7 separate regions of the Homo sapiens genome follow, and all the other regions are linked to region 2. The links are contacts of gene promoters, found by promoter capture Hi-C in blood cells and fetal thymus (Javierre and others, 2016). All regions are on one chromosome and are shown on one strand. Each heading gives the region's core, a stretch centred on a gene start or on the middle of the fragment in contact. The rest is flanking DNA. Distances are from core to core; before and after follow the strand shown.

Evidence for each region. The method cuts DNA at HindIII sites, captures the fragments that hold promoters and counts their contacts. A CHiCAGO score of 5 or more calls a contact.
Region 1: a contact is called between a fragment that was not itself captured here and the fragment with the promoter of SHISA2 in region 2, in 1 of 17 cell types (megakaryocytes). The highest score is 6.2, in megakaryocytes.
Region 3: a fragment that was not itself captured here is called in contact with the fragment with the promoter of SHISA2 in region 2 in 9 of 17 cell types (fetal thymus, total CD4 T cells, activated CD4 T cells and 6 more); the score reaches 9.0 in fetal thymus.
Region 4: a fragment that was not itself captured here is called in contact with the fragment with the promoter of SHISA2 in region 2 in 7 of 17 cell types (fetal thymus, activated CD4 T cells, non-activated CD4 T cells and 4 more); the score reaches 9.6 in fetal thymus.
Region 5: a fragment that was not itself captured here is called in contact with the fragment with the promoter of SHISA2 in region 2 in 5 of 17 cell types (naive CD4 T cells, fetal thymus, activated CD4 T cells and 2 more); the score reaches 7.5 in naive CD4 T cells.
Region 6: a contact is called between a fragment that was not itself captured here and the fragment with the promoter of SHISA2 in region 2, in 6 of 17 cell types (fetal thymus, activated CD4 T cells, naive CD8 T cells and 3 more). The highest score is 10.5, in fetal thymus.
Region 7: a contact is called between a fragment that was not itself captured here and the fragment with the promoter of SHISA2 in region 2, in 16 of 17 cell types (fetal thymus, activated CD4 T cells, megakaryocytes and 13 more). The highest score is 23.0, in fetal thymus.

What each region holds. Positions count from the first base shown.
Region 1 is chr13:25,551,913-25,554,871 of GRCh38, reverse strand. It overlaps ATP8A2 (ATPase phospholipid transporting 8A2), which reads right to left. Exons shown (of 37, transcript NM_016529.6): 12 at 952-1,079. Among named protein-coding and RNA genes, the nearest start is that of ATP8A2, 180 kb to the right of the region's middle. The HindIII fragment of the contact is 6,965 bases long and covers 1-2,959 here.
Region 2 is chr13:26,050,766-26,053,465 of GRCh38, reverse strand. SHISA2 (shisa family member 2) reads left to right here and starts at 1,450. Exons shown (of 2, transcript NM_001007538.2): 1 at 1,450-2,700. The coding sequence starts at 2,491. LINC00415 (long intergenic non-protein coding RNA 415) reads left to right here. Exons shown (of 2, transcript NR_146971.1): 2 at 794-1,190. The HindIII fragment of the contact is 15,847 bases long and covers 1-2,700 here.
Region 3 is chr13:25,623,296-25,626,148 of GRCh38, reverse strand. All of the region lies in intron 24 of ATP8A2 (ATPase phospholipid transporting 8A2), which reads right to left. Among named protein-coding and RNA genes, the nearest start is that of ATP8A2, 250 kb to the right of the region's middle. The HindIII fragment of the contact is 1,364 bases long and covers 771-2,134 here.
Region 4 is chr13:25,692,595-25,695,386 of GRCh38, reverse strand. All of the region lies in intron 24 of ATP8A2 (ATPase phospholipid transporting 8A2), which reads right to left. Among named protein-coding and RNA genes, the nearest start is that of ATP8A2, 320 kb to the right of the region's middle. The HindIII fragment of the contact is 4,592 bases long and covers 1-2,792 here.
Region 5 is chr13:25,606,445-25,609,144 of GRCh38, reverse strand. All of the region lies in intron 24 of ATP8A2 (ATPase phospholipid transporting 8A2), which reads right to left. Among named protein-coding and RNA genes, the nearest start is that of ATP8A2, 240 kb to the right of the region's middle. The HindIII fragment of the contact is 4,774 bases long and covers 1-2,700 here.
Region 6 is chr13:25,649,013-25,651,713 of GRCh38, reverse strand. The region is part of intron 24 of ATP8A2 (ATPase phospholipid transporting 8A2); the gene reads right to left. Among named protein-coding and RNA genes, the nearest start is that of ATP8A2, 280 kb to the right of the region's middle. The HindIII fragment of the contact is 1,376 bases long and covers 699-2,074 here.
Region 7 is chr13:25,589,593-25,592,384 of GRCh38, reverse strand. It overlaps ATP8A2 (ATPase phospholipid transporting 8A2), which reads right to left. Exons shown (of 37, transcript NM_016529.6): 24 at 2,686-2,750. Among named protein-coding and RNA genes, the nearest start is that of ATP8A2, 220 kb to the right of the region's middle. The HindIII fragment of the contact is 2,486 bases long and covers 11-2,496 here.

The DNA.
Region 1 (2,959 bases), core at 258-2,757, 500 kb after region 2:
AATGCTGATTTTGGCTGGGCGCAGTGGCTCATGCCTGTAATCCCACCACTTTGGGAGGCCGAAGTGGCCAGATCACTTGAAGTCAGGAGTTCGAGACCAGCCTGGCCAACATGGTGAAACCCTGTCTTTACTCAAAATACAAAAATTAGCCAGGCATGGTGGTGCATGTCTGTAATCCCAGCTACTCAGGGAGGCTGACGCATGAGAATCGCTTGAACCCAAGAGATGGAAGTTGCAGTGAGCTAAGATCACACCACTTTACTCCAGCCTGGGTGACAGCACAAGACTTCATCTAAAAAAGAAATACACACACACACACACACACACACACACACACACACATACACACACACACACACATGATTTATATTTATATAGATATGATTTGATTTCAAAATAATCATTTCACAACCTAGACTAACTCATGATTCTCACCTTGCTGACGGGATTGCTGTGAAGATCAAATAAAAATGCACATCAAAGTGCCTGGTCTACAAATACTGGCTGCTAAAGTCCACTACTTAAGAGCCATGGCAGTCCTTTAAATATCTTATCTCCACCCTTACAATCAAATCCAAGTTGACTATCACAATGAATTTTGATATGCGAGTGACCACTATAGTAAACACACCCAAGAGGCCTTTTCTTCAGCCTTAATTAGATGTTAAAAGCGTGAATAGCAGGTGCAGCCAGATGACAGGCACTGGCTCAGCATTCCACCCCATTCTCTGACCAATCCTCACAACAACGCCTTGAATAGGTACCACTGCCCTTCCATTCCCCAAAAACACCCTCACTGGTGATCCCTGGCCAGTTCTTTGTATGGCCAGTTTAAGCCCCTGGACCTAATGGTAAATGAATATAGTTCTTCTTTTTTGAGTGCTCAATTAAATGCCAAAGGCTCTGAAATAGCATTGGAAAATAGTGATTCAACTCTGCTTTAATACTCACCCAGTTTATGAAAAGGGCTTGAGTATACTTCACAACCTCAAGAGTCACCAACAGACTGATGGGAATAAGATTGTTGTATAAGATGATGAACGTCAGTAGGTTGTATCCAAAATTATCTGAGGTGGTGTCTGTGGAAGGAAACCAGAGTATCTGAAAGGTGTTCACAACCAAAGTCTATTGGCTCATTTAGAGATTCATGTTAAAATAGTTATTGAGCACCTCCTGCATGTCAGGAACCGTGAGTTCAAAGGCTGCTTTCTGTAGGAGGCACACAGGCCCCACAATGCGACTGCACAGCAGGATGCATCCGCTAAAGAGAGGCTCACAGGACGTAGCGGGAACCAACACAGAAGGCTTTCTAATGGGAAGGCATGGTCACTGAAGGCCATCCAGAAGAAGAAATGCTGCTTTCAAGTTTTGAAGAACAGAGAAAAGAAGCAAACTTGAAAGAATGTAGAAAAGAAGACAGGCCTTTGAAATGGTTGTAAGGAACACCTACAAGCTCACTAAGGTACGTGTATATTGGGGATACTCCAAAGAGCTGGAAAGATGGACAAAAGTGTGAACAAGAGAAGCAGACAAAGAGAGAGAAGGCTTGAGCCCAGCTAAAGATAAGAGAAGGGATATCTGGACGGAACAAGTTCCCTAAGGATGGAACAGGACCCTAGGGGATGGAGTCCACAGCAGAGGCAGCATCAGCTCCAGGAGGAACAGAGAATGGGGGAGGGAGAGGGGGACAAGGTCTGGGGGTATCAAAGGGAAAGTTCTTTCCTTGACAGCCATGATCTTCTGCTTGAAGGGTAAAGTAGTGAGATCTTCTTAACTTAGCAAGAGGCTTAAGGAGAAGGTTGCAACAGCGTTTAACTGATATTAAAGCTGTGAAGGGAACTAGAATGAGAATAAAGATAGCAGAAGGCTGGGATTGGAGGGAGACTGATAATTTGTAATGGCTCCAAACCATAGTTACTAGGTTTTTTCCCAGGAAATTACATCAAATGGTGGTAGTCTGATTCCAATTTAGAGTTTTGAAGCGTGGCTGTGATGGAAAGACAAGGAGCTGGGAAGGTACAGGGGGAGCAGGCATATGCTGGCCAGTAATTTTACCTTTCCACAATCCCTTCACTTCCTACTCACTACCAACCCTTCCACTTTTCCTGCTGGTTGCTTTTCTTCCTGACATATTACTTTGCTCTCTTGTTCTCCTGTAGAATTAAGGAGTTTCTAAATAGGATCTCTAAGTTCCAATAGTTACAAATATCTGTAAGGTATAAACAAATATCTACCTGACAATTACAAATACAAGAAATACTAAAGAAGTTCTCCAGGATGAAAGAAATACCAGACAGTAATTAAAATCCACAAAAACAAAGGACACTAGTAATGATAATTCTACAGGATTTATAAAAGATAGTATAATTATATATTCCCAATTTTAAAAAAGCAATTGCTAAAAGCATCATAAAATTGCATTGTTGAACTTATATACAGATGTAATATATATGACAGTGCAAAGGAGTGAGGAGAGAATGAAGATACATGAAGCAAAGAAATGACACCAGCTGTTAAATCCAAAGGAAGAAATGAAGAGCGAGACCTGGAAATGGTAAGTAAATATGTTAATATAAAACAACCCTGGCCAGGCGTGGTGACTCACACCTGTAATCCCAGCACTTCAGGAGGCCGAGGCGGGTAGATTGCCTGAGGTCAGGAGTTCGAGGCTAGCCTGTCCAACATGGTGAAATCCCGTCTCTACTAAATATACAAAAATTAGCCAGGCATGTTAGCACATACCTGTAGTCCCAGCTACTCAGGAGGCTGAGGCAGGAGAATTGCTTGAACCCAGGAGGTGGAGGGTGCAGTGAGCCGAGATCACACCACTGCACTCCAGCCTGGGCGACAGAGCAAGACTCCGTCTCAAAACAACAACAACAAAAAACACTATCAATATACTTTTTTTCTTTTTTCCTTTAGCTTCTTTAAGAGACACAAATTATTATAACACTATTTT
Region 2 (2,700 bases), core at 201-2,700:
GTCTTTTTGTCTGATTTCTGTATTTTACCCTGGAGACTTTAGGCCCTATTTGAAGGAAATGGCCATGCTGTCTGGCTTCTTGATGAGTCCCAGTACCCAGCACAGAGCACAGTACACTGTAAGTGCATGGCGTGTATTTCTTGAATGAATGATTTCTTGACATTGAAATTTTTTTTAGCTTACTAGCTTAAGACATTTGGTGAATAGTGCATTTAAAGTATATAATTTTGTGTAGCTTAAAACGATACACAACCAAAAAACTGCAAGAAAACAAAGTGCAATGCTTGGAGAGAGGTTTAGTGAAAAGAATAAGGTGTGTGTTGGGGAGCAGGGACATAGGGTAGGGTTTTTTTTCTTGGATTTGACATTGTTGGGGCAAGTGGAAGAATAATCAACAATGTCTGAATCTTCACATTAACCAGGCATACACAAGCATCCAATGGCTGCTTGAACCTGAGTGTCTTTGCTGTGAATAAAACTGCCTGTGTTCTGAAGTCATGGACTTGAAAGGGACCTTAGTGATCGTCACATCCTATGCTCCACTTTATAGATGAAGAAACTGAGACCAGAAAAACGCAGTGATTCCCTGCTAGTAGGGCTGGGTCTAGAATTCAGGTCTGCTGACTCCCAGACGGTGTGGGAAGGGGCATTCGTTCCTTTAAAAATAAGCACTGCTGCTTTAATAACATCAGCACCTGTTGTTCCAGCTTCTGCAAGAGAGAAGCTATTAATTTCTCCTTCATCAAAGCTGAATTTCTGGTCTGTCTGAACCTTGTTTTCTTCCTGACTGCAGCTGTCTAAACCACTAAGGCCACATGTTGGACGGAGGCACTTTCCTGCTGGAATCCGATAAATCACCACACCCAAATATAGAAAGAAAAAGGGACACAGATCATCCACACCGTGGCCGAATGTGTGACATCTTTGCTGAACTCTCTCCGTTCCACCTTGTGGTGGAGGCCTCCAGTCCACCAAACACAGCCCTAGGCGTGTGAACCCTGCCACAAACATCGGTGCTCTTCCTGCACAGGGCCTGGGACCAACCGTGGCCAGGACATCAGCTGCTGGAAGCCGAGAGAGTTCATCTGAGTGGCGATTTTATGATCTGCAGAGTGGAAAGTAATCATAATCCCTTGAGAAGTTTGCAGAATCGAACCGAATGTTGAATGCCAAAGATCTTCACAAAGCAAGTTGAGTTTCTTCCGTTATTATTGTTATTTGTGTTAGCGAGGCCTGGATTGCTTAGGTTGGGTTTCCTCCCGCGCCTATTCCAGCAGGCAGACCCCGCCCTTGGCCACACCTTTCTCCTTGCCCGGGGTAGGAAAGTGAGGGGCTGCCCGGCGCCCGCGGGCGTCCCTGAGGTCGGGGGTGGGGGGGAGCCGCGCAGCGCGCATGCGCGCCGGGGAGCCGCCGGCCTCTATAAGAGCGCGGCTCAGCGCGGCAGCGAGCGGAGTCGGAGCTGGTCTGGCGCCGGGCGGGGCGAGGCGAGGCTGTGGGCGGCTGCTGCGCTCGGCTTCTCCCGTAGCCCGGAGGAAAGAAACTTCCGTGGGAGGCTTCCATCGGTGCGCACACCTCCCGAGGGCGAGGCAGCGACCGGGAGAGGGAGAGCCGGCCGGAGGCTGCCGGGCTCCTGTGGGACCGCGCTGCAGCCGGGGAGGCGGAGAAGGGGAACCGGGGCGAGCCGCCCGCCTGGATCCGCGCCCAGCAGCAGCCGCGGCCGCCGCCAGCTGGGCAGGCTCCCGGGACTGCGGCTGGGGGCGCGCAGGACCCTCGCCTGCGTCCTGGACGTTCCCGGGGTCAGGAGCGCTCCCTCGGCGACGTGCTGGGAAGATTGGCCGTCGGCCCCGCCGAGTGGAGCGTCGGGGCTGCACCCCCGTGGGCTGCCCGGGCGGCCCGGCCGGAGCCATGCGGACCAAGTTCGGGGCAGAGGAGGCTGAGCGCGGCCGGCTGCGTCACTTGCTGCCCAGAGCCTTGCGTGCACTGCCCGCCTTCGCCCCTTCTACCCGCCCGAGGAGGGAATAAAGGAGGGGAGACGGGCCCTGATTCGCGCGCGGGACCCTGAGGCTTAAACCCTGCGCAGAGCCCTGGCTCCAGGTCCGCGGCGGCGCGCCCAGCGGTCATTCGGCTCGAGTGAGCATCCCTTCGGGGATGCTCAGGGAGGGTCCGGTTGCCAGTGAAACCTCCAGAGGCTTCCGGACGACAGCCCCGGGGGCCTTCTGACTGCATCCCGAGATTTCCATCAGCGAGTGCAACTCATAAGGCAGTCCCTAAGGGGACCGGGCCACCGGCTGAGGACGGGGATGGCTTAGGAGCTCCTGGACCTAGGGCCCGGCGTCGTCGCCTCCTGGGCGTCGCGGCAGAGGGGAGTGGCCCGCGCGGAAAGCGCCGCGGGACAGTCAGTGACGAGGCCCGGGGGTCGCCGGGGCCACGACTTCTCGGAGACCGTCCTGCGCTCTCTGGAGACGCGCTGTCCGCGCCCAGGGTGGTGCCATGTGGGGCGCTCGCCGCTCGTCCGTCTCCTCATCCTGGAACGCCGCTTCGCTCCTGCAGCTGCTGCTGGCTGCGCTGCTGGCGGCGGGGGCGAGGGCCAGCGGCGAGTACTGCCACGGCTGGCTGGACGCGCAGGGCGTCTGGCGCATCGGCTTCCAGTGTCCCGAGCGCTTCGACGGCGGCGACGCCACCATCTGCTGCGGCAGCTGC
Region 3 (2,853 bases), core at 203-2,702, 430 kb after region 2:
GCCTAAAATTGTGGTTAGCACCCAAAAGTTGCACAATAAATTTGCTGAACGAAAGAATAAACCACTTGTGTTCAGTGAGTATCCAGTATTCATCTTCTTTTTTGGAAAGGCACATTACAATCACATTGATTCAATTTTGACTGTATAACCTTTGAAACATCAGATGGCTAAGACATAGTTTAAAAAAACAAACAAACAAACTTCAGAGCCAGTAGATGCAGTCTCAGCAATTCTACTTAGTTGTGTGACCTTTGACAGGTCACTTCTGAGCCTAACATATTCATCCGTAAAATGGGAACACAGCCATTCACATCATAGGCTGTTGTGAGGATTAAATAAAAATAATTGAGTTATACACCAATTATGCCTTTTGGTTCATAAGTAAATTTTTGAAATTTCTAGTTATTCAGAGATCAACACAAAACTTGCAGTAACAGTCATGTGATGCAAGAGAGCTCCACTTTTTTCAACATTCTGTGGAATGAAGTGTTAACAAAATCTTTCGTCTTGAGAAAAAGCAACAACCCTCAAGAGATCTGCAGTGGCAAACGCTGTAATGAGACACCCTCTGCCCCTGCCTCCCCAAAGACCTTCACTACTCACTGCTCAAACACATTGATGTTGGTTCCCACAAGAAGGTGTAATTTAATAATCTTTGAATTGCTGAGGCCTGTGTATTTTTAAACCTGAAGGCTCAATTAGCAGCTAGAGTTCAATCACTATAGTAGCACTTGTAATTTCAGACAATTACTTCACGTTGTGTGGAAGCTTTGGACATAAAGAGGCTGTATGTTTTAAGGCACATTTTGTCCTACTACATTTCTGCACCCTTTTCTAAATGCTTAATGCTTTCAAAAACTGCATTTGTTCTTCCTCAAAAAGGGATCTGACAAAATAAAAGGTTTTCTCTTATTAACATTTCTCCTGTCTCTTGATTACGGGGCTCAAACTTGAGTGTCACTCCTCATGAAGAGTATCTCCAATTCTCCACTTGTTGAGGCAAGAATAATCCTCAGATCCACAACTAATCTCTCATCCCTTCCAACACTAAATGCACATTTTCTTGTTGCCTATTCTTGCTTAAAGATCCCCCAAAATGTGACTAGATAAAATTGATCATGCACAATCCATTGTTGCTATTAGGTTTTCCTAACACCATTAAGGAAAAATAAGACCATTTTATATCTTTAGAGATAATTCCTATGTAAAAAACTTTTAGATTTCAGCTGATTCAAATATATCAGAAGCAACACACATCTGCAGATGGAAGGAATTTCTTTTAAAATGATAATCTTGTTAAACTTACAGGAGTTGAAATAGAAATGAAAAACTTAAGAGGATTGGTCATAGGAAAATTGTACTAATCAATTTACTTGGTTGAACTATTTTTCTGAAAGCAGCTCAGAGACAAGACCACCCCTGTGCAAGTGTAACTCACACAACTTGTACTTACCCAATTAATAGCAAATCACTAACTTGATTAACACATAATTACATACATACCTCAATTGCCTTTAGAACATATAATTTGAGGAAATACTGTAATTTGTGCTTGGGAAATACATTGTTCACCTACATACAATACTCTCTAATAGAGGCACCATTGAAAATATTCAGAAAACTAGTTAACATTAAGTATCTTGTTAAGGTTAACTGGGCCACCTAACAACTTAGCAAAATATAAATTACATTGAAGTGAAATAAAAAAGGTAGAGTACTTGCCTAGAGTTATAAAAATCAGACAGTGAAGGTTATAACTCAATCAAGCTGAGGCCATTTCTGTAATTTCATTTGTCTCCTTTTCCTCTTCTGTATTTATAAACCACAAGTCCTTAGGTGATGAAGGAATCCTGGCCCCTTGATTTAACCCACCATCTCTGCCAAAGTCATAAATGCCATATATCAGTAGCTTGTAAGACCAGCAAGGAAAGAAATGCCCACAGTCCTTGTCCTGAGGGTTATGTCAACTAGTTAAGTGTAAACGAAAACAAATAAAGCAAGACAGTTTTCTATTAAGAAATACCCTTCTTGGAGAGTCCAATTCAGTAAGCCGTTTAAGCACCACCAATGTGCAAAATATTTTAAAGATGAATACACCAGTTTCTACCATGAAGTCTTAACTAACAAACAAGCTTACAGCCCAGGAAGGGGAAGGATGGCACTCCATTCTCACACACACACACACAATATAGATATATGTATATTTATATTTATGCATGTATATATATGCACACACATACATACATGCATTATAGATATATGCATATATAGGTATATGCATATATCTATGCATAATTTATGCATTTATAATCTATGCATAATTTATGCATTTATGCTCATCTAGATATGCATATATATCTCTATATGCATGTGTATATATACACGTATACACACACACACATATTTCTATAACACAAGAGAAGTCCGTGCAGTTTTACTTCCATCAGGATAAAATTCTCCCATGTCCAAAAGTCCATGAAGGTGATAAATCCAGAGCAAAGGCAGAGATATTGGTCATAAGGATAGAATTAGAAAATGAGACTGATAAATTAGAAAAACTACTATGTTTCAAAACACGTATTTGGTGATTTGGTGAATTTACAAGATTTTTCTATTTACCTTTCAAATCTTTTCTTCTTAATAAAAAACACACAAAAAAAGGTGGAAAACCTTTTATCACTTCTGAGCTGACACTGAGAAGAACTTTTGAAAAAAAAAAATCATAGTCCTGGCTTTTTGTTGTTGCTATTGTGGAGACTAAGTCTCACTCTGTTGCCCAGGCTGGAATGCAGTGGCATGACCATAGCTCACTACAACCTCAAACTCCTGGGCTCAAGTGATCCTTCCACCTCA
Region 4 (2,792 bases), core at 56-2,555, 360 kb after region 2:
CCACCCCAACCTTCAGCAACCACCACCTTGATCAGCCAGCAGCCATGAATGTCATGGCAAGACCCTCCACCAACAAAAAGATTATGACTTGCTGAAGGCTTAGGCGATTGTTAGCGTATTTTAGTAAAAAGTATTTTTAAATTAAGGCACACACATTGGGTTTTTTAAAGATGTGATGCTGTTGCACACTTAATAGAGTACAGTACCGTGTAAACATAACTTTTATATGCACTGGAAAACCAAAAAAAAAAAAAGATAGTGTGACTTGCTTTATTACAGTATTTGCTTTATTGCTATGGACTGGTCCCAAATCTGCAATATCTCTGAGGTATGCCTGCAATAGACGAAACATTAATAGAATAATGTTCTATGCATAAAAGTTAAATGGACTTTTATTAAAAACAAAGAAGCCAGTCATGGTGGCTCATGCCTGTAATCCCAGCACTTTTGCCAAAGAGGGAGGATCACCTGAGGCCAGGAGTTCAAGACCAGCCTAAACAACAGAGTGAGACTCTGTCCCTAGAAAAAAAGGGACATATAGGCACATAATTGGCCAGGCATGATGGTGCATGCCTGTAGTCCCAGCTACTCAGAAGGGTGAGGTGCAAAGATCGCTTGAACCCAGGAATTGGAGGCTTTAGTGAGCTATAATCATGCCACTGCAGTCCAGCAACAGCCTGTCTCTAAAATAAATAAACTTTATACTTTTTATTGTCAATTAGCTTTGTAATTCTGAATCTCAAACAAGCATCCTGAAAACATCTATGCCTTCCTTATCTAAAACAACAGCCTGCCCTTTAGAATTTGGGTAGAGAGAAAAAAATTACCCTGACCTGGGGAAATGCCAGCTTGGCAGCCTGGGTGTGTTCACCAGGAAATTCAGGTAAGTCTGGGAAATTCTAGAGGGGTGCCTGCCGGGGGTCAGTGTATGAAGGACAGAAAAACCTCTTGAGAAGCACGTCACCAAAGAGATGAGACAAGGTACACAGATTTGGCCCAGGGAGAGCATCCAGGTGCTACAGTAGAGGCCCAGTCTAGCTCAGTGCCAAGTCCCATGGGCCTCCCCACTGGACTTATGCGTGGATCCAAGGAGGGAAAGAGTGAGGAATAAAAATCTCTGAAATGTGGAGCCCATTGCCTGTGGCTTTTTGTAAGAGGGCACAGCATAAATGGAGACATAGGTGCTCATCTTAGGAAGGCAGCTTTCTCCAGTTAGGGTTATTTCTGCAGCACACATGAGGATAGACTGGATGCCAATACATGGTTCTTCTTCCTTGGCAGGAGGAGGAGAGGGACTAGCTTGGCCAATGTGGTAAAACCCAGTCTCTACTAAAAATACAAAAAATACAAAAAAATTAGATGTGCGTGGTGGTGCACGCCTGTAATCCCAGCCACTTGGGAGGCTGAGGCAGGAGAATTACTTGAACCCAGGAGGTAGAGGTTGCAGTGAGTCAAGATCGTGCCACTGCATTCCAAATGGGCAACAGAGCAAGACTCCATCTCCAGACAACAACAACAAAAACCCAAAAATTAGAAAAGTGTGGTGGCACACCCTTGTATTTCCAACTACTTGGGAGGCTGAGGTGGGAGAATCACTTGAACCTGGGAGGCAGAGGTTGCAGTGAGCCAAGATCGTGCCACTGCACTCCAACCTGGGTGACAGACAAAATAAATAAATAAAATAAAAATAAATAAAACAGAGAGAGAGAGAGAGACAGAGAGATCTGAGGGATGTCTCTCTCTGACCTCTTGGTGGGCTATTCAGCCTTACTGGTACACTTTGAGTTACATTTTGCTTGAAAATGGCTGGTTCTCAATCTCAATCCTGCTTACTCTTCCATTCTCTTCTCCCTGCCCTTCATCTGCTCAGATACACTCCTTTGCCTCTGGGATTGAAATCCTCTTCCTACCACTAAGAGCCCTCCAGGTCCATCCTTCTAACGCCACCCTTGACGTGTCTCCAGCCTCTACTTTGAGTTTAATTCCTGCACTTTCCATGCCCACTCGGCAATAATCTTTGATCAAACCCAGACGAGCTGGGTTCACCACACACATGTGGTGGAACATAGGTCCCTTCTGTGCAGTTCTCAAGCGAGCCAATTGAAGGTATTACTATCACAAACAGTTCCTTATTCTCAAATGGACTATGATTCAAGAGTCTATTTGTAAGGTAGTTATTGGGCACTTAGAATCCATTTTCCCAGAGGAACGATGTTACAAATTATGGTTGGATCCCAGGGCCAGTTAATGCCTATTTAGTCCAGTTGCTAAAATTTATACTACAGTCTCTTATTTTAATAAAAAGCCAATTACTGAAAGTTACAATGGACTTAGCTGTTATAAGGGGCATAAAAAGTCAGGGCTGGAGGTTTCATACCCAGAAAGATAAAAAATATTCCAAAATCTTTAATTAGTATTTTGCTTTTAGGTGTTAACATTAAACTGTATATTTCTAGCTTTTGGTGCATGTTCTACAATTGTATTTTCCTTCACAATTAAACAAACGCATAATTTAATGTCGAAAGTGAGTGACTGCTACTGACGACTGTCCCCTACCTTTTTCCCCAGTTTTGTTCTCCTGTGAACTTCACATTTCTTAGCAAGGTCAGCATGGCCTTTGCATTCCCAGTTTATAAATTAAAATTAGGTAATCACCACAGACAGTACCACCTTATAATCTCAGGAGATGTTGTGTGTCTGCTGATTCATAGAGGATCCTCAGAGTTTCATCTGGTGAACCCTGAAAGACGGTGGAAGTGCAGCCCTGCTCAACCTAGGAGTACCCAGGATTC
Region 5 (2,700 bases), core at 179-2,678, 440 kb after region 2:
TTGATCTTCTCTTGCTCTTTTATTAACATTTTAAATTGTATGTATAGCTTGTTCATTTTAAGTCTTTTTTATTTTGTAATCTAATCGGTAAGGCTACAAAAATTTCCCTCTTTGGGATATTCATATCCCATGAATTTGATGCAAAAGTATTTTTTAATCATTCAATTCTAAGTATTTTCTAATTTCCAATGTGATTTCCTCTTTGACACTGGATTTGTAAGTATAGGTTTTTAATTTTCCAAGAATATAAGATTTGTATGATGACCTTTTTGAAGGTCTTGGGCAAGGGCATAGCACTCACAGAACATGAGCTGCATGAAAATCAGTTCTCCAAAATTCTGTTAACACTTTATGATTTGTATGGTCATTTTTGAAAAGTGCTTGAGAAGTATGCAAATGCAGATAGATATAGATGTATGTATGGCATAATCACACTGACATATTTGTCTGTGTGATGTGTGTTTATGTGTCATCTGCAGCTGCTTTCTAATTACAACAGGAGAATTGAATAGGTGACACCTACAGCATATGGCACACAAAGCCTAAAATATTTACTATCTAGTCCTTTACAGAAAAAGTTTGCAAGATTTTTCCTAACCATATATACTTAGCACCTTAGACGTTTCCTTTGTGGCAACTGTCACAAACAGAACTTAAATGTATAGCTGAGATTTAATGATGACTGCTCAAATTTATAACAGCACAAACAGAAACTTGAGAGTAGAGAACATACTGTCATGTAATCCTATGTCTACAACCTGGGCAAACTGCCAGACCTATTAAAAGTACTCAAATATCTGTTGCTTTAATGAAACCCAGAAATTAAATATGCACGCTATGGTTTGGATATGCTTTGTCACCCCAAATCTCATGTGGAGATTTGCTCCCCATTGTGGGGTTCAGGCCCTCTTGGCATACCTGTTCCCTCTTTGACCTTATCTACAGGTTTTTACACAGCACAAAAGCCTTCACCAAAAGCCAAGTTGATGCTGGTGCCATGCTTCTTGTATAGTCCCAGAACCATAAGCCAAATAAGCCTCTTTGGCTTATAAATTACCCAAGCACAGGTATTCCCTTTATAGCAACACAAAATAGACTAATTCAATCCGTTTCTCCTTTGTCCTACTCTGAGGATTCTCTTTCACATGCTTCTTATTTTACTATCATCTATTAAGAGGAAAACTCACTATTTTTAAAAAGCAGCATTTCTAAGTCTGTGTCCCTTATAACAAGAGTTACCAAAAAAGAAAATCACTGGTCAAATAAATTTGGTTAACAAAATATTCTATATAATAAACCTCTGCATGATTTATAGTGAAATAAGGGGATTAAAGATTGTGTAAAAAGTGTAGTAGATGAATCTACTTCATTATTTACAACTCTGCATCTTCTCAAATTAGCCATAGATCCAATTCTCCCAAAAATGCTTGTTAACATTTTTAAAAACACTGTTTCAGAAATATAGCTACAGCTGGCAATGGAACTGGAATTGAGTCAGTTTCCATCTGATTACACAGGGCAGGGGGTCACTAAACTTTTGGTAAAGAACCAGATAGTAAATATGTTACAATTTGTGGGCCATGCGGTTTGTGTTGCAACTACAGATGGTCACTGACTTTGATGGTTTAACTTACGATTTTTTGACTTAACAATCGGTTTATCAGAGTACTAAACGTTATTTTCAACTTATAACTTACAATGGGTTTATCCAGAAGTAAACCCAATATGAGTCGAGGGGCATCTGTACTCAACTCTGCCTTTGTAGCATTGAAGTGATCATTGACAGTACATCAGTGTGCATGGCTGTGTTTCAATAAAACTTTATTTATAAAAACAAGTGGTGAGCTGGATTTGTCGCACTCGCCAGAGCTGGCCAGCCCTTGTCCTAGGGCAGCAGTCCCCAACTGTTTTGGCACCAGGGACCCGTTTTGTGGAAGATAATTTTAACACAGGTTGTGGGGGATGGTTTCAAGATGAAACTGTTCCACCTCAGATCATCGGGCATTAGTTAAATTTTCATAAGGAGCATGTAACCTAGATCCCTCACATGCCCAGTTTACAATAGGGTTCCCATTCCTGTGAGAATCTAATGCCACTGCTGATCTGACAGGAGGTGGAGCTCACGTGGTAAATGGGAGCTCGCCTGCCACTCACCTCCTGCTGTGTGGCCCAGTTCCTAACAGGCCATGGACCAGTACTGTTTCGTGCCCTGGGGGTCGGGGACCCTTGAAAATTATCTACACTCTGCTGCCTTGTACAGTAGCCACTAGTCACATGTGGCTATTAAAATTTAAATTACTTAAAATTGATAGTTCCTCAACCAAACTAGTTATGTTTCAAGTGATTAATAACCACATGTGACTAGCAACTATTACAATGGATAGCACAGAAAAACATTTTCACTTCTCATTAACCCTCTATAGAAAATGTGTGGGTGGATGGGTGTCTGGGGGTGTTTAAGTATACCAATCATTTTGTTTCACACTATTTTTACATTTAATTTCCTGGTAATAAGGGGCAAAAGTACCTGAATAACGAAATGAATATGCTCAGTTGGACAAAAATACTTTCCAGTAGGCTTATAATTTAAATTTAAGTAGAAGAACTAGACCATTCAGCTGGATGAAGGAGACTGGCAATTTAATAAGTCAAGAACTTCCCTATTGAAAGCAGAGTAGAGAGCTAATCTCTAAGAAATAA
Region 6 (2,701 bases), core at 137-2,636, 400 kb after region 2:
TACCTAAAATGTCTGTTGGACAAAGCCAAAAGGTTGTCCTTTGAAAAATCTAATAAACTCCCCTGATCACAATTCTCTAATAAATAAAATCTGAAATATATAACTTGAATAAAACTGAGAGATGCTATAGTCATAAATAAAAAAGATGATAGGTGTGAACAACTTTAGGCCAATAAATTTGAAAATTTAATAAAATAAATCTGCAGAAAAAAAAGCTTACTATAACAGCCTGACTTCTAAGAAATGAGAATGTATGAATAATTTTTTTTTTTTTGAAACAGTCTCACTCTGCCGCCAGGCTGGAGTGCAGTGGCGTGATCTTGATTCACTGCAATCTCTGCCTCCCGAGTTCAAGTGATTCTCCTGCCTCAGCCTCCCGAGTAGCTGGGACTACAAGCATACGCCACCACGACCAGCTAATTTTTGTATTTTTAGTAGAGATGGGTTTTCACCATGTTGGCCAGGATGGTCTCGATCTCTTGACCTCATGATCCACCCATCTTGGCCTCCCAAAATGCTGGGATTACAGGTTTGAGCAACCACGCCTGGCCGAATAATCTTATAATAATTAAAGAAGTTGACTTAGTAGTTTAAATTTTCTCACAAAGAAAATTTCAAGTGAGTTCTATCAAGCATTCAAGGAAGAAATAATTTCAGCTTTACATAAACTAAGTCAAAGGAGATAAAGAGGGAAAGCTTCCCTAACTCATTATTATGGATAATGTAACTGTGGTACCATAATCCAATAAGGACAATGCAGAAAAATGAACACTATAGGCAAATTACATTCAAATATGGATATAAAATTTTAAACAAATACCTAAAACAAAATCAAATAATGTATTTTAAAAAGTAACACATCATGACCAAGTTGGCTATTTCTAGGAAAGCTAGATTGGTTTAACATTGGGAAATTATTGAATGTAGTTCACAAATCAAAAGATTAAAAAAGAAAAACCATAAGATCATGTCAATAAATACAGGAAAATTAGTTGATACACTCGAAACAATGTTCATAATAACCTGATAAACAGTACTTACAGAAAATCTACAATAAGCATCATCCTTAAATGTAAAACATTAGTAGAATTCAAATTGGAAAAAAAGCTGAAGTACCCTTAACGCTACTTCTGTTTGGCCCCAACACTACTTCTATTTTGCAGTGGAGGTTCTAGTAAGCTAGATAGGTCGAGAAAAAGAAATAGACCATAAAAACTGGAAGGGTATATCCAAACTGTTATTCAGAAGTGGTATTTTTGTTTACATTTAAAAATCCAGAATAATCTACATATTAGAATTAATAAGAGAGTTCAGAGTTCCTAGATCACAAAACTAATGTACAAAGAGAATTCAGACGACATCAGCAAGATGGTGGGATAGGAGGTCACAGGTTTCACTACCCCCCTACCCCACAAAAAGTTCAACTAGCAACTATCCACAGACAAGAACGCCTTGGTGAAAACTCCCCAAGTTAGGAATAAGTCAGAGTCACTTGTGTGGTCCACAGCATGGAATAAAAGCCGCATGGAAAGGGTGAGAGAAACTATCTCACTTTGACAACATTGCCCCACCCCATCCCTCAAGTTGGCCCAGGGCCTCACAGACGGGATTTCCCAAAAACCATGGTTTCTACAGAGGGAAAAGAGAACCCGAAAGCAAATATCCAGCTTCCCTAGCATTCCAAGATGCTTCTTAGGAAGTCCACTCTGGTCTCACCTCAAAGGGAACACAGCGGAATACAGCACAACTAGACCACCTGGGGTCAGGTGGAAACAAAGCAATGAGTGTACAGATCTTGGTGGTAGCTTTGTGTACCTGGCAGCAAAGGTACCTGATTAGAGGTACCAGCTAACAGTGTAGCTCACAGGCAAAGCTGAGCTGATCACTCCTGGAAGAGGTGGAAAGTGCTACCTGGCTTGAATTCCTAGACAGGCACAATCCAGGACCAGCCTTGGACTCTACCTGAGGGCCCTGCCCATGGAGGACAACAACCACCACAGGGAATTGCAGCAAAATGGAAAGCTAGTTGTGCCACACCTGGGAGTCTAACAACACCTGGTGTGACCTCAAAGCTTACCCCAAGACCCTACCCAGGCAGGGAGACAACCAATGCAGCAAACTTCATTGAAGAGCAGGGACAGCAGAGGGAAAGTTTACACAGCACTTAACCTCAACACTTAACTCACCCTAAGGCCCCACACAGGCAGGAAGGAAAACTTCAACCATGCATTTCTATTGTGCATAGCATCTGGTCTTGTCCATCTCAGTGTCTCCACTTAACTTTGAGGCCCCTCCCACAACCCTGGCCAACTGCAGAACTCAAATAGTGGTACCACTTGAGCAGAGAACACACCCTGGCCTGATCTGAGGCTACTGTAGTGCCCATCCAGCAGCTCAGCCTGATTGTGAAGCTCAGTCCAGCCAGCTGCCCCATGTGAATTCAAGGTAAAGGCAGCACCCCAGACATTTAGAGAACTCCAAAATAAGCTCTGCCTGCCCAAGGCTGTTACCAGCTAGCCCAACCAGAATTGCAGGTTAAACTACATAATAAGGGTCTGTTCCAAAGAATGCCTGTGAAAGCTGGAAAAGGTTGTTATCTCAAGTACACAAACACCAACGCAAGGACACAAGGATTACATGGACTCAGGAAGAAATCATGACATCTCCAAAAGAAACTGACAAAGCTCCAAAAATTGACCCT
Region 7 (2,792 bases), core at 4-2,503, 460 kb after region 2:
ATCTTAAGCTTGTTCATTCATTCAAACATTTACTGAGTGCATAATATGTGCAAAGCAAGGTCTTGAAGGTGGAGATGCCCAGTTTTTTTAAACAGGTTTTTAACCATGGACCTTACAGTCTAAGGGACTAAAGGGAGGTAGAAAAAATACAAATTATGTCATAACACTGAAAAAAAACCTGATTAAAAAATGGGCAAAGGATTGAATAGACATTTCTCCATAGAAGATATACAAATGACCAAAAGGCACATGTAAAGATGTCCATTGTCACTAATAATTAGGGAAATACAAATCAAAACTCCAATGAGATACCACTCTCAAACCCATTAGAGTGGCTACTATTAAAAAAAAAAAAACCAGTGTTGGCAAGAATATGGAAAAATCACAAACCATATAAAACGATGCAGCTGCTGTAAAAAAACAGTATGGCTGTTCCTCAAAAAGTGAAATGTAAAATTACCATATGATTCAGCAACTCCACTTCTGGGTATATGTCCCCAAAAATTAGAAGCAGGATCTCAAAAAGATATTTGTATATCCACATTTATAGCAGCACTATTCACAATAGTCAAAAGTTGGATTGAGACCATCCTGGCCAACATGGTGAAACTCCATCTCTACTAAAAATACAAAAATTAGCCAGGCATGGTGGCGCATGCCTGTAATCCCAGCTACTCAGGAGGCTGAGGCAGGTGAATCACTTGAACCAAGGAATTGGAGGTTGCGGTGAGCCTCGTTTGGCACAGCACTCCAACCTGGCAAGAGAGTGAGACTTCGTCTCAAAAAAAAAAAAAAAAAAAAGTTATAAGCTACTCAACTGTCCACTGATGGATTAATGAATCAACAAAATGTAGTATAGGCATGCAATGGAATATTAATCAGCCTTAAAAAGGAGCGAAATTCTGACACATGGTCCGATATGGATGAACCTTGAAGACATTATGTTACATGAAATGAGCTAGTCATAAAAATCACAAATACTATATGATTGAACTTACACGAGGTACTTACAGCTGTGAAATTCATAGAGACACAAAGCAGAATGACTGCCAGGGGATGAGGTAGGTGTGGGAATGGAGAGTAGTTGTTCAAAGGGGCACAGAATTTTGGTTTGGGAAGATGAAAAGAGTTCTGTGGATGGATAGTGGTGATGGTTACACAACAATATGAATATACTTAATGCCACTGAACTGTACACTTAAATGATGTATTTCACAACAATTTACACACACACACACACACACACACACATAGTATTTCCAATGATGAGAGGTTCCATGGAGAAAAATAAAGACGTGTGAGAGGGGGAAGACTGAAACACTTGGGTAGAGGAGAGATTTCCTCAGAGCATGTGAGAATTAGACTCCAGGAGATGAGGTATGACCTGGGACTCTGGGCTGCCTGCAGGCAGTAACATGAACAAGGATAGGAGGTGTACCGAGATGAATTCTGAAGCACTCACGCCAGAGGGTGGTCTCTTGCCAGTGGTGCCTTGGAAACATACAGAACTACGGACTCTCCCCCTGCCTCCTGCCCTTGGTCTCATGAAGGGGTAGAGAGTATCCTGGTGTTCACGATAGGAGTTATGGCCCTCTCAATTTGCAAGTATAGAAAGCTCTGTACTTTATTGCCTCCCTTTAAAAGAGTAATTAACCGTGCCATCTGCCCCTGGCATTGGCTAAATATAAATATTAAATATACTGCCTGAAAGGGTGCTATGGGTGCCTGCCAGTAACAAAGCCCTTGTTAAAAGTTCTGACAAGTGGAATCTCATTGTTCAGCTCATATTTTCATATCAAACCACTTCACAGGTTGCTGGTGACCCTCAAATCAGCTCCCACTGCTGGTCTGTTCAGTGGCTTTATGCCATGATGGGGTGGGTTCATGCGGCAGCATTGGGACATCAGAGAATTAAGTATACATGTATCCTATTACTATACGAATGTATTATTATTATTTCAAGACAGAGTCTCACTCTGTCACCCAGCTTGGAAAGCAGTGGCACGATCACGGCTCACTGTAGCATCCACATCCCAGGCTCAATCAATTCTCCAGCCTCAGCCTCCCAAGCAGCTGGGACTACAGGCATATGCCACCACGGCTGGCCAATTTTTCCATTTTTTGTAGAGATGAGGTCCTGCTGTGTTGCTTAGGCTGGTCTGGAACTCCTTGGTTAAAGCGATCCTTCTGCCTCCGCCTCCCAAAATGCTGGGATTACAGGCATGAGCCACTGCACCTGGCCTCACTATATAAATTTAAACAATGCTTAACACTTGAATATTAGTTTTATTCTAAAGTTTGTGCTAGAAAGAAAATCATACATGTCTCCTTAGTAACTTATAGTGAAATTAACCATCACCATTTAATGTAGGTCATAATAGGTTCCACTAATATTTCATACTTAATGATTAAAGCTAAATCAGATTAAAACTATCCCATTTTAAATGCACAATTCTAGATGAATAAAAGTATTATCATGAGGCAATATTCTAAGCTTACTGTTTTGATGTTTAAAGATAAGGCTTTCTGACATCCATTCTTAAATATAAATATAAACAGAAAATAAACACAGTTTTTTCATAACTGTTTTTTAGCAAAACATGATCCCTGATTATCAATGATAGTAGAAAGAAAGAGTTTAATACTGTTATAGCAAAGCAAATACAACTTTGAAAAACTACTTACATCCAAAGAGTCCTCCTTCAATAGGATAAGGGCCATATTCTGCGATACCAATCGGCAGGAATACCCTGAAGTGGAGGAAGAGACAACATGTGAATTTCTCTTTCCTT